Linked DNA regions of Homo sapiens: region 2 is linked to region 1. Evidence: promoter capture Hi-C in human tissues and cell types (Jung and others, 2019). All regions are on one chromosome and are shown on one strand. The core of a region is centred on a gene start or on the middle of the fragment in contact, and the rest is flanking DNA. Distances in the headings are between cores, read along the strand shown. Region 1 holds the start of FAM186A (family with sequence similarity 186 member A). Region 2 overlaps LOC107984505 (a long non-coding RNA gene).

Region 1 (4,114 bases), core at 1,436-3,935:
CAAGACTTTGCCATTCTGATCTCATGAAATCCTCCTTGCTTTGCCGCAAATGGAATCTCCTCAGATACCAAATTAATTCCACCACCAAATTGCTGATATCTGTTATCTCAGGCCCACCCTAATGTGGTCCTCAGTAAATTCCCGTGAAGTCATCTCAGTGATTAAACCAATCTCCTTACTTTCCCCCTAAGATGCAAACTCATTAGCACTCACCGCCAAAGCCATGGCTCAAGGTGTTGCCCCTACCTGGATTGCCTCCATTTGTCAATCAACCTTCTCTCTCCATAAGGTTTTCTCAAAGATTCTGCTTCTACAGATCTCTTCTTCGTGTCCCTTATTAGCACTTGATTATTATATTCTATCTTAAATCTTTTCTTTTTTGTTTTAGTTTCTTCACAGGAACCCTATCATATATTCTTCAGTTTAGGATAATGTAAGCTGCATAGTGTTTCAACAAATGCTTGTCGAATTGAAAGGGAAGCAGGATTTAAAAATTGACTTTAAGAAGCCTTCATGGCCAGGCGTGGTGGCTCATGGCTGTAATCCCAGCACTTTGGGAGGCCACGAGGTCAGGAGATCGAGACTGTCCTGGCAAACACGGTGAAACTCTTTCTCTACTAAAAATACAAAAAATTAGCCGGGCGTGGTGGTGGGCGCCTGTAGTCCCAGCTACTTGGGAGGCTGAGGCAGGAGAATGGCGTGAACCTGGGAGGCGGAGCTTGCAGTGAGCCTAGATCGTGCCTCTGCACTCCAGCCTGGGTGACAGAGTGAGATTTTGTCTCAAAGAAAAGCCTTCATGTCTAGTTGCTGATTGATGAATTCCATGCTGCATAAAAGATGCAAGTGAGAGAGAAAGAATAATGCAAATTTAGTTTAGTTGACAACTAAACTTTGGGAGGCCGAGGTGAGTGAATCACTTGAGGAGTTTGAGACCAGCCTGGCCAACACAGTGAAACCCTATATCTACCAAAAATATAAAAAATTAGCCAGGTGTAGGCCGAGTGCAGTGGCTCACACCTGTAATCTCAGCACTTTGGGAGGCCAAGGCATGCAGATCACGAGGTCAGGAGATCGAGACCATCCTGGCTAACATGGTGAAACCCCGTCTCTACTAAAAAATACAAAAAACTAGCCGGGTGTGGTGGCGGGCGCCTGTAGTCCCAGCTACTCGGGAGGCTGAGGCAGGAGAATGGAGCAAACCTGGGAGGCGGAGCTTGCAGTGAGCCGAGATCATGCCACTGCACTCCAGCCTGGGCCACAGGCGAGATTCCGTCTCAAAAAAAAAAAAAAAAAAAATTAGCCAGGTGTGGTGGCGCATGCCTGTAATCCCAGCTACTCGGGAGGCTGAGGTAGAAGAATCGTTTGAACCTGGGAGGCAGAGGTTACAGTCTGCTGAGATGGCACTACTACACTCCAGCCTGGACAACAGAGTGAGACTCTGCCTCAAAAAAAAAAAAAGAAAGAAAGAAAGGAAGGAAGGAAGGAAGGAAGGAAGGAAGGAAGGAAGGAAGGAAGGAAGGAGAAAGAAAGAAAGAAAGAAAAAACAATACATACACCTGTAGTAAAACTATGTAAAAATAGATAACACAAATATGTAAAATTCATGATTGTCATTTCCTCTGGAATGGGACAGTGGGGAAGGAAGGAACCAGGGGTGGGGGACATCAAAGAGGACTTCAACCTTCTGTAATGCTTTTTTATTATTAAAAAAATTGGAAGCAAATATTAAACAAAAATTAGCCAGGCGTGGTGGCGCGCACCTGTAATTCCAGCTACTCAGGGAGGCTGAGGCACAAGAATCTCTTGAACCTGGGAGGCAGAGGTTGCCATGAACCAAGATCACACCACTGCACTCCAGCCTGGGTAACAAAGTGAGACTCTGTCTCCAAAAAAAAGGGAAAGAAAAGAAAAGAAAAGAAAAAAGAGTAAGCAGTGCAAAGAGTGTGATCCTCATCCAAATGATATCATCCAAGTTACTTCATCCAAATGATATCATCCAAGTTACTACATGTCTAGGAAAAGTTAAGGGGCAGCTGAGGAAGTAGTTGTAACCTTTATTCCATTACAGGCTTAAAAATACTTAAGCAAAACCCCAGGAAGAGAGAAGAACCAGGAGTTATATTTGACACACCTAGATTTTTTTTTTTTTTTTTTTGAGACAGTTTCACTCTTGTTGCCCAGGCTGGAGTGCAATGACGTGATCTCGGCTCACCACAACCTCCGCCTCCCGGGTTCAAGTGATTCTCCTGCCTCAGCCTCCCAAGTAGCTGGGACTACACGCATGTGCCACCTCACATGGCTAATTTTGTATTTTTTTTTTTTTAGTAGAGACGGGGTTTCTCCATGTTGGTCAGGCTGGTCTCGAACTCCGACCTCTGGTGATCCACCTGCCTCGGCCTCCCAAAGTGCTGGGATTACAGGCATGAGCCACTGCACCCGGCCAACACATCTAGATTTTAAGCTTATTTAAGCAGGGCTATATCTTCTGTTTATTTTAGCATTCCTGTTGTCTATTATTTCCTACCCTCCTTCCCCCCTCACCCTTCTACCATGGCAGCATATAGAATGACCAGTTCTCTGCACATAGTAAGCATTCTTTACATGTTTGATCAATGATAATGTCACAATGGGTCTATTGTGACATCAACAGGACGGGAATATCATGGGAGCCACCAATTAGTAGCAGAGTATGCCACAACTTCTAGGATCAGGAAAGACCTCTCCTAGCTTCCTACTGGATATCTTTATTAGCATTTTTGTAGATTCTGTGAAAAAGAAGAAATAAAACGAAATCACCCACATTTTCAAAATGTTCTTCAAAATGAAAAATGAGATAGACAATGACCCTGAATCAGAAAAATGCATCAAGGATTCCACCATCATGAGAAGAGAGCCCCAAAATATCCTTAGTCCTTTGATGCTCCCTAACCTTGAGATCCCATTCTCAGTAAAGGATATCATCTCTAGGATTGAGCGCGCACAGCTCCATCGAGCCAGAGAGGTAGGTAGTGAATCTGAAGTTTACAGACTGCAATTTTCTTTTTAAACTTTCTGTGACCAAGTACATTTTTGTTTATTTTAGAAATCACTTTCATGATATTTGACTGTATTTAGGGTAGCTTTGACTTCAAATGACAATTTCACCTGACACCGACTGTGGATATAACAAGCTCCAATTTGACATTAATCTCTTTATATCAGGTTTAATAAAGCCATTTAAGAAATAAATCAAGCCGGGCATGGTGGCTCACGCCTGTAATCCCAGCACTTTGGGAGGCCGAGGCGGGCGGATCACTGAGGTCGGGAGTTCAAGACCAGCCTGACCAACATGGAGAAACCACCGTTTCTACTAAAAATACAAAAAGTTAGCTGGGCATGATTGCACTTGCCTGTAATCCCAGCTACTCAGGAGGCTGAGGTAGGAGAATTGCTTGAACCAGGGAGGTGGAGGTTGTGGTGAGCCAAGATTGCACCATTGCACTCCAGCCTGGGCAACAAAAGCGAAACTCTATCTCAAAAAAAAAAAAAGTTTTCATTTGTTCCCTATGGAGGTTTTATCAAACAGCTATTAGCCAGATAGAATTTAGATGGCTTTGAATTCTAGCTCCTTTTATTTTCCCTGTACACTTCAAGGAGAAATTAGGAGAAATTCAAGGAGAATAGAAAGAGTGTTTACATAATGTCAGCCGGGTGCGGTGGCTTATGCCTGTAATCCCAACACTTTGGGAAGCTGAGATGGGAGGATCCCTTGAGGCCAGGAGTTAGAGACCAGCCTGGTCAACATAGTGAGACCCCATCTATATTTTTAGAAAAATAAATAAATAAATAAATACATAAGAATCTAATAGACCCCCAAACAATTAAGGTTATACTGCATTTTATTCTCTCGCAGTACAACAAAATCAGGCCAGGCACAGCGATTCATGCCTGTAATCCCAATGCTTTGGGAGGCCAAGGCAGGAGGATCTCTTGAGCCCAGGAGTTCTAGACCAGCTTGGCCAACATAAGGAGACCTCCTGTCTACTAAAAATAAAAAAATTAGCCAGGCATGTTAGCTCAAACCTGTAGTCCCAGCTCCTTGGGAGGCCAGAGGATCCCCTGAACCCAGGAGACT
Region 2 (3,904 bases), core at 707-3,206, 110 kb after region 1:
TTTGGCAGTAAGTAGACTAGATCTAGATAAATAACAATATATGAGATTATTAACTATAAATAATTTTGGAACATTTTTCTTTGGTTTATTCCTAAGGACATGGCAGAAGTTTCATTTTACCAAATGCTTAATGAATTACACCTTTATATACTAAAAGAAGAAGGAGGAACAGAAATCTAAGCTCCTAGTTTGTCAGCTAAGTAAGACATGCCATTTTATTGAATCCCCAAAAGTCAATTAGGAATGAACCTGTAATTCCCATTAGGAAACTATGGTTGAAAAGTTAAGTAACTTGTTCAGGAAAGAACAAAGCAGGTAGGGTGGAAAGTGGGAACAGAGTTAACATTTATTATCAAGTTTGTAGTAAGCAATACCAAATATTTTACATACATTTTCTTGTTTGAGCTTCACATTACCCCTAAAAATACATACTACTCATTAATGTGCTAATAAACAACCAGCTCCCTGGGGAGATAATGTGTGCATATCTATATCTATCTATATAAATCTATAAAAATGTTACTAATATAAAGCATGTGTAGCTTACAGCTTACAAATAATAAATATAAAATACTCTTTTTGTGAATTCCACACAGCCAGTTGATTCCACAAGCTTTCAATAATTTTTCCAAACTCTTCTACCTCAGCCAATTTATGATGGCAATTCAACCATCATTCGATGTTTTCAATCTGCTAATCTTTTCCCAACATATTTCTTGTCCTTAAGTGTGACATTTGATTTACTATTAAACTACCATTCCTCATCCATTACCATTTTTCAACCTCATACAAACTTATTAAAATGAAACTTCTTTCAGTTTTAGCACTATTGATTGCAATAATGCTATCTTTTTAGCTTTTTGTATAATTGCAGGGATTGTAATTTTGTTTGATTCTAAATTATTACTTGCAAAATCTTGAAAATAACTCAAGGCCAGGCATGGTGGCTCACACCTGTAATCCCAGCACTTTGGGAGGCCGAGGTGGGCGCATCACTTGCGGTCAGGAGTTCGAGACCAACCTGACCAACATGATGAAACCCTGTCTCTACTAAAAATACAAAAAATTGCTGGGCGTGGTGGCAGGCGCCTGTAATCCCAGCTACTTGGGAGGCTGAGGCAGGAGAATCGTTTGAACCTGGGAGGTGGAGGTTGCTGTGAGCTGAGATCACGCCACTGCACTCTAGCCTGGGTGACAGAGCGAGACTCCATATCAAAAAAAAAGAAAAAATAATTCAAAATACATGTTTTAAAATTTCACTTAAATGATATTATTTTCCACAGTGAAGAAGTCCAAGAAGGTGATTTTAACAAATAAAAACAACTTAAAATGATGTTTCTAATAAAAGACATGTATTCATTACTTTTTAGTAACACATTCTTAGGCAGAGGTTTAAATCTATTTTTGACTAGGTGTGGCAGTTCATGCCTGTAAGCCCAGTGCTTTGGGAGTCCAAGATGAGAAGATTGCTTGAGGCCAAGAGTTCAAGACCAGCCTAGGCAACATGTGACACCCCATCTCTACCAAAAGTTTTTAAAAATTAGCCAGGTGTAGTGGCATGTGCCTGTCGTCCCAGCTACTTGAGAGGCAGAGGCACGAGAATCACTTGAGTTCAGGAGTGTGAGGTTGTAATGAGCTATGATTGTGCCACAGCACTCCAACCTGGGCAACAGAGTGAGACCCTGCCTCAAAAAAAAAATTATTAAATGGAATGACTTCAAACTGATGACTTAACCAAATATTCAACTTGAGAGTCATGCTTTCTAATGCCAATTTTTAATTTTTCCAAAGCTTTTATAGTGCATTCTATTAATTTTTTAATTTTCTGAATGTTGGTTGATCTTAACTGCAGTGCAACTGAAAGTAATGAAAATTATTTAAGAATATCAATCATTAAAGTAAGGTATTACAAGAAATTAATATTAGCTGATCTTGTTGCTAGGCCAGAATAAAAAGAATGAGAAAAATGCATTTATAATGTAGGATATGTGTGCCATGCAGCATTAGCGGTTGGTAAAGTACATGTCCACCCATCTCAACCTAAGTACTTGGCTAATTTTAATAATTTCAGTTTCAAGTTATTTAGCTATAATTTCCAACTGTTTCCTTTTTTTGGGTTGGTGGTAAACAGAATAAATTTTATCCATAATATTGTTATTTTTTCTTGAGACGGAGTCTCACTCTGTCTCAGGCTGGGGTGCAGTGGCACAATCTCAGTCCACTGCAACTTCCGCCTCCTGGGTTCAAGTGATTCTCCTGCCTCAGCCTCCCGAGTAGCTGTGACTACTGGCGTGCACCACCACGCCCAGTGAATTTTTGTATTTTTAGTAGAGACAGGCTTTCACCATGTTAGCCAAGCCAGTTCTGAATTCCTGACCTCAAGTTATCCGCCTGCCTCGGCCTTCTAAAGTGCTGGAATTACAGGCATGAGCCACCGTGCCCAGACTATCCAGAATATTTTTAAATGATTGACTTGTTTTATTTCAGATACTGAATTATAATTGGTAACAGAACCAAATGATGACATTAGGAAATTTTTCTGACAAATCTGTGGCCACTCCAGTCTTCTTTCCCATTATTGTGAAAGCACCATTAAAACAAAATGCAGCTTACTTTCAACTATTCATTATTAAATTTCAAATATTCATTACTGAAGCCACATTTAAAGTAGACAATATCGGCTGGGCGCGGCGGTTCACGCCTGTAATCCCAGCACTTTGGGAGGCCAAGGCTGGTCGATCACTAGAGGTCAAGAGTTTGAGACCGGCCTGGCCAACATGGTGAAACCCTGTCTCTACTAAAAATACAAAAATTAGCTGGGCTTGGTGGTGCACGCCTGTAATCCCAGCTACTTGGTTGAGACAGGAGAATCACTTGAACCCAGGGGGCAGAGGTTGCAGTGAGCCAAGATCGTGCCAGTGCACTCCAGCCTGAGGGACAGAGCACAACTCTGCCTCAAAAGAAAAAAAGTAAAATAGACAATAATGTAGTAGAAATATAATCTGTGTGGCAGACACCAATTACTTTTTTTTTTTTTTTTGGAGATGGAGTCTCGCTCTGTTGCCCAGGCTGGAGTGCAATGGTGTGATCTCTGCTCACTGCAACCTGTGTCTCTGGAGTTCAAGCGATTCTCCTGCCTCAGCCTCCTGAGTAGCTGGGACTACAGGCGCACACTACTACACCTGGCTAATTTTTGTATTTTTAGTAGAGATGGGATTTCACCATGTTGTCCAGGCTGGTCTCGAACTTCTGACCTCGTGATCCGCCCACTTGTGATCTGCCCACCTCAGCCTCCCAAAGTGCTGGGATTATAGGCGTGAGCCACCGTGCCCAGCTGACACCAATTCTTTTAAAGCAACAAATATCTTTACCAGTACAGAAGCTTATTCAACTGTGTACTGGAGATAAATCTCTAGGTAATTTTCTTCCAATATGTAGATGTCTCATCAATTATAGTGCATATTTGCCATTCTCTTCCAAGATTCTTAAATATGTTGACATAATTTCTTTTGCAGTATGTTCTGCTATTCTTGTTGCACCGTATCATGTATGTAAACATTTGCCTGTATCTACTCCATTTTTCCCTTTCAACTCTATTGTTCCCTTCACTATCAGATAAAGGCCTATGAGTTTTTTGTTTGAGACAGGGTCTTGTTCTGTCGCCCAGGCTGGAGTGCAGTGGTGTGATCTCGGCTCATTACAATCTCCAACTCCTGGGCTCAAGGCATCCTCCCACTTCACACTCCCAGGTAACTGGGATTACAGGCACACACCACCACACCCAGCTTTTTTGTCTGTTTATTTTATTTGTTTGTAAAGACAGGGTTTTGCCATGTTGGCCAGGCTAGTCTCTAACTCCTGGCCTCAAGTGATCCCTGCCTGGGCCTCCCAAAGTGCTGGGATT

What was found. Contacts are between HindIII fragments. The study calls those that stand out against the background at their distance.
Region 2: a contact is called between a fragment that was not itself captured here and the fragment with the promoter of FAM186A in region 1, in 3 of the 25 tissues and cell types used here (H1 embryonic stem cells, mesenchymal stem cells and small bowel).

Annotation. Positions count from the first base shown.
Region 1 is chr12:50,395,180-50,399,293 of GRCh38, reverse strand. It overlaps FAM186A (family with sequence similarity 186 member A), which reads left to right and starts at 2,685. Exons shown (of 8, transcript NM_001145475.3): 1 at 2,685-3,001. The coding sequence starts at 2,810. The HindIII fragment of the contact is 8,551 bases long and covers 1-4,114 here.
Region 2 is chr12:50,285,975-50,289,878 of GRCh38, reverse strand. The region is part of intron 1 of LOC107984505 (a long non-coding RNA gene); the gene reads right to left. It also overlaps the pseudogene LOC100418734. Among named protein-coding and RNA genes, the nearest start is that of LIMA1, 4.4 kb to the right of the region's middle. The HindIII fragment of the contact is 5,152 bases long and covers 1-3,904 here.